Linked DNA regions of Homo sapiens: region 2 is linked to region 1. The links are contacts of gene promoters, found by promoter capture Hi-C in blood cells and fetal thymus (Javierre and others, 2016). All regions are on one chromosome and are shown on one strand. The core of a region is centred on a gene start or on the middle of the fragment in contact, and the rest is flanking DNA. Distances in the headings are between cores, read along the strand shown.

Region 1 (2,700 bases), core at 201-2,700:
TATGGCTCCTCTTCATCGCCCATTACCGAGAGCAGTCCTACTTTATTCATATTTACATTACGAGAAAGTAACTTCAGGAAGAGATTTGGTGTCAGAATGTTCTTTTGTGAAAGTTTTTCGATCATGGCTTGTGATAATATAAATTCTTAAAAATAATTAAATTATGAACTTTTAAAGACTAGGAATTGACCCAAGTACGTTCTAACATTCAGGTGTGAGAAGTTGCAGATAACGGCTCCTTGAGACCTTTTTAAAAAGTACCAAACAGTGTATTTAATCATATTTAAATATCAGGAGATCAAATGATCTTGGCGTCATTACTCGGTAAAATAAACTACATTAACCAAACGTCATCAGCTAGCTAGCACCGTAATTATCAAATCTATTTCCATTAAACAGCCTTGACGACACAGTAAACTTGTCTTCGTAATTCTGAAATACCAGAAGCACTCCTCCAACTTGCATTTTTCAAAGACAACCTTAACGTCATAAAGGTTTAATAAGCAGCAAGTACCTTCGCATGTATCACTGCAGCCGTTTCAAAATCGGCTTTGAAAGAGTTAAAAGCCAACACCCAATAGGAGGGAAAAAAACAAGTTTTATTTTTGTTGAAACGTAGTCAGGGTTCCATTGTTCTTTTAAATTCGATCATGAAGATGAGTTCCCACCTCACCGGAAAGAGGTTAAAAAGCTCCTCCGTTGGAGAACCTGAAAGGGATTTTTTTACCCTAAATATCAAAATAACTCACCAGGACAGAAAGGGGCTCTCCACGCCCGATCCCCTTCGGGCTCTCGCCGGCATTCACCCGCCGCCCCTTTCCCGGCGGATCCAGTCCCGGCGACGAGGCTGCCCCCCGCCCACCTGCCGCCCGCGGGCTCTGCAGCGGGGCCCCGCGTGCCCCCTACCCCAGGACCCTACGACTCGGGCCCAGGGCACCGAGGCGCATCCCGCCGGCGAGAGCCGGCCCCCGACCACGGAGGGGCAGTGCGAGAAGAGCCGAGCGGCGAGGCCCGGCCCGCCGCCCCCTCCTGCTCGCGCGCTCAAGGACATTTTGCTTTTCCTCCCAAGGACAAAGGACAATAAAAGGAGCTAGGGAGCCACTCACCGGGTCCGAGCGCGGCCACCGGCACCTCCTGGTCGCCCAAACCCGAGTCCCGGGCCGGACCGCCCGCCCGAGCCTCCCGCCCGCGCCGGGTCCAGCCGCCGGGGCCCGGGGGAGCCTCCGAGGCGGCAACCGCAGCGGCGCTTTCGGCGTCGTGGGCCCGGCCGCCCTGGGCGCCTCTGCCGCGGGCTGTGACGCCGACGCGCGCGGCCCGCCTCGCCTCAGCCGCGGCAGCCCCACTCCCGCGGGCCTGCTGGCCGTCCGGGCGTAGCTCCCCGCCGGCCGGCGGGCCTCGCGGCCGCGGCGGAACGCCTGACAGCTCGGGGTGCTGCTGCCTCTCCGGCCATCTTGTGCCGTGTGTGTGGTGTCTCTCTCCCGTCTCCTCTCTAGGCTTTACTCCCTCCTCCTCCTCCCCCCGCCCCACACACCACACAACATGGCCTCTTCGCTGCGGCGGCAGCGGCTGCGGCGGCGGCAGGAGCTCCGCCGCGCTCCAGCCCGCTCCCCTCCCCCACCATCCCCGCCTCCCGCCCGCAGGCCCGGGGGCCAACGCGCACGCGCGCCGCCGCCCGCCCGCCGCGGCCATTGGCTCCACGAGCTTCCTGCATCCCCTATCCGGGAGCGGCCTCACGCACGTTAGCTGGCGTCTTCCTCCCTCCCAACAACAACTTCTTCCATTCTATTGGTTAATTTCAACACCACCCCTTCCGCCTCCTTCGTGCGGATAGGCTGGCCTTAGTGCCATTCACTGTCCGTAGGCGTTTCTGGTTTTCTTGAGAAGCCCCGGGCCACGATTGGCTGGTGATGGAACCTTTGGGGTTGGAGCTGAGCTGTTGCTTTTTTCCCCGCAGTGCGGACCCCTCCAGGCTAGCTGGAGGGTTCCTGGTATGGTCTAGGCCAGGCTAGAATGGTTAGTGCAGGGTCGCACAAATAGTGGATTCGCGTCTAGAAAAAGCTCTGGCTTCGGTGTTTCTAGGTTCAGATTTTGTCTTTAAAAAAAGGGAAAGAAAAAAATGACTGACAGGATGATGAGCAAACAAGATACAGGCCCACAGCCCTTGGGCAAGCAGCCATATCCTCAAAATATTTGTTCTAAGCACCCAGGCCTTCCATGAAGGTCACACAGTCAGGACCAATGGTTTTACCATCAGCACATTCCCTAGCCCCAGTATCCGAGTTGAGATGCGATTTATTTGTGGATTTGTAGACTGCCTGTTGCGCATTTACCTGAGAGCCTAAAAGAATGTCTAGTGTCTTGTGAGCTGTCGTCATGGAAATCAAAAAAAACAATTAAAAAGAATGTCCAGTGTCCTGAGGCCTTAGCGAATCAATCTCAATACCGGTTGACTGGATTCCACCCTGTAGGACAATGTTTGTTAGAGTAGCAGTTTGAACCTGAAAAATCATAGTCTACCTTTTCAACCTCCTTCCAGAGAACCAGGCAAAACAAGTTTCATTTGCTTTCGGCAAATCTCACTTTTTTTTCGTTACTTCTTCCTACTTTAACGTGGAAACAACTCTAAGAAGACCATAGGAAAAAAATGAAAACCTAAACTTTCCTGAAATGGATGGGGAAAAAAAAAAGAGGTAGCTCTCT
Region 2 (2,700 bases), core at 103-2,602, 140 kb before region 1:
GGAGGCCAGAACTAGGCTGGAATGGGATGGGGTGCCAAAGTGCAGGAGTGGTGACCCGAATCAGAGCTGGACCCAGTGAAAGGCCTCCCATTCCTTGAAGTGCTCCTTCAGCCAGTGAGTTGACAGCAGCAGCATGTCCAAAACTCCACTTACTGGTCTAGATAACCGGCTACTGTAGGATCAGACCAAAAATATCCACGTGTTTGGTGACTCTTACTCTCTCCTTTACGAGCTGTCCTTTATGTTTTCCGAACATTCCAGTTATAATCTGGGTTGTTTTTCTGTTCTAGTGATCTCTCCAAAGGAGACCTATGATCCAGGGGTGACTTGGAATCGTGAGGAGATTTCTGAGAAGGGGGTGAGCGAGGATCTGAGACTGCAGGGTGCAATGGGGGTAGAGGCTGTTTATATTCCCCCAGTTTATCTGTGTGGAAAGAGCGGTAATGGTCTGAGGGTCCCTGGCCATGGTAGCCCATAGCGGGGCGGTGATCAGACATTCGTCGGAAATCCTGCTGGTGGTAATTTTGAGGCCTAAATTCATCGGATCTCCTCCGCTTGGAGTCATGATGGTGCCTGAAATAGAGATGCAAGGATTAGTCGAAAGACTGAAGCCAGATTCCCATCCACTTCTCTTCACTACCCACTTGGCTCTTCCTCATATACTCATATTCAAGGACAAATGCTCACATTATTAGGAATCAAAAAAATTAATAACAGAGTCATTTTACACTTATTAGCAAAATACATCCTATGAAATAAGGCTCAAGTGTGCAGTGACACAAGTACACACTTGAAAAATTACTGATGGCTTTTGCAAACTCACTCCCTTTAGGAAAAATCTGGTAAGATCCATAAACATTACCATATTCCTGGACCCAGCCCATGAGAAAAAGAGCCACAGAAATTATTTTGTAAGTTATTAATAACACCATCAACCTAAATATGCAACAAGTGAGTGACTAGTTAATAAAATTATCTTAAAAACCAACTCAGTGTGAAGAGTATTAAAATTTTTAGCTTGGACCATGGTAAACTGCTCATGATACCATTAAAAAAAGAATTACTAAAACTCAACAACAAAAACAACCCAACTCAAAAACAGGCAAAGGATTTGAACAGACATTTCTCCAAAGAAGCTATACAAATGGCCAAAAAAAACCATGAGAAGATGCTCCATGTCATTAATCACTAGGGAAATGCATGTTCAAGCCACAATGAGACTACTTCACACCCACGAAGATGGAGATACTCATTAAAAAAAAACACAAAAAAAAAACCCAGGAAATAAGTGTTGGCAAAGATAAGGAAAACCTTCAACTCTTACACATTGCTGGTAGGAATGTAAAATGGTTCAGCCATCGTAGAAACATTTTGGTGTTTCCTAAAAACGTAAAGAATATGACTAATAATTCCACTCCCAGGCACATATCCAAAACTGAAAACAGGTAGTCAAGTACCTGTACACCAATCTTCACTGCAGCATTATTCACAACAGCCCAAAGATGGAAACAACTCAAATGTCCATCAACAGATGAATGGATAAACAAAATGTGGTATATATCCACACAACGAAATATTATTCAGCCATAAGGATGGAATGAGTACTGATGAATGAACCTTGAAAACATTATGCTAAGTGAAAGAAGCCAGACACAAAAGGTCACATATTGTATGACTCTTTCTATATGAAATGTCTAGAACAGGCAAATCCAGAGAGACAGAATGCAAACTGGTGGCTGCCAGAGGCTGGGGAGAGGGAATAATGGGGAAGGATTATTTAATGGTTATAGGGTTTTCTCTGACTGATGAAAGTGTTTTGGAACTAGATAGAAGTGGTGGCTGCCCAATATTATAAATGCACTAAGGTCATTCAGTTGTTCGCTTTAAAATAGTTCCTTTATGTAATATGAATTTCACCTCAATGAAAGAAAGAGGGAGGAAGAAGTGAGCAATCTCAAGTTCCAGTCAAAATGGAATAACAGGGACTAGATTTACCATCCTGCCTGAAACAGCCAAAAGGGACAAAATGCATAGAACAGTGGTTTTCAAGACACCAGACATCAGGCAATGAAGAACAGTGATCCCTGAGGAATGGACACTAATGAAATGAGCCTTTTAACGGCTCCTGTTCACTATCATGAGATAGTCCCTCAGGCTGTGACACAGGAAGAAGGAAACCCAGAAAGACACCAGTTGGCTTCCCAAGGTGAGGGATGGGGAACCAAGGTGGCCAGAGTTCACAGGGCATGGCATGAGAGAAGACAGTGCTGCAGAGAAAGAAGTTTGAAGATCTACAGAGGGTTCCCAGGTATACAGCTGAATACTGCTTAGGATGTGCATGTGGGGAAACTACCCAAGGCCAGGGAAAGGACCACCCGAAAAGACTGAAGGTAACAGTGCCCTGTGCTCACAAAGAACTGGCATCGTGCCTGTTCTCACCAGCCACACCAAAGACCTCCAGATGGTGATACGGTTTGGGTATGTGTCCCCTCCAAATCTCATGTTGAAATGTGACCTCCAATGTTGTAGTGGGAGGTGTTTGGGCAGATCCCTCATAAATGGCTTGGTGCTGTCCTTGTGATAATGAGTGAGTTCTCTGAGTTCACGTGAGAGCTGGTGCTTTAAAAGAGGCTGGCACCTCCTCCTCTCTCTCTTGCTCCCTCTCTTGCCATGGGACGCCTACTGCCACTTCACCTTCCA

Evidence for each region. The method cuts DNA at HindIII sites, captures the fragments that hold promoters and counts their contacts. A CHiCAGO score of 5 or more calls a contact.
Region 2: a fragment that was not itself captured here is called in contact with the fragment with the promoter of CHASERR in region 1 in 3 of 17 cell types (total B cells, neutrophils and non-activated CD4 T cells); the score reaches 7.5 in total B cells.

The regions. Positions count from the first base shown.
Region 1 is chr15:92,881,593-92,884,292 of GRCh38, reverse strand. CHASERR (CHD2 adjacent suppressive regulatory RNA) reads right to left here and starts at 1,450. Exons shown (of 6, transcript NR_037601.1): 1 at 1,107-1,450; 2 at 515-708. RefSeq lists silencers at 724-973, 1,594-1,723 and enhancers at 967-1,608, 2,034-2,123. The HindIII fragment of the contact is 7,161 bases long and covers 1-2,700 here.
Region 2 is chr15:93,022,245-93,024,944 of GRCh38, reverse strand. CHD2 (chromodomain helicase DNA binding protein 2) reads right to left here. Exons shown (of 39, transcript NM_001271.4): 39 at 1-573. The coding sequence ends at 240. Among named protein-coding and RNA genes, the nearest start is that of RGMA, 66 kb to the left of the region's middle. The HindIII fragment of the contact is 5,768 bases long and covers 1-2,700 here.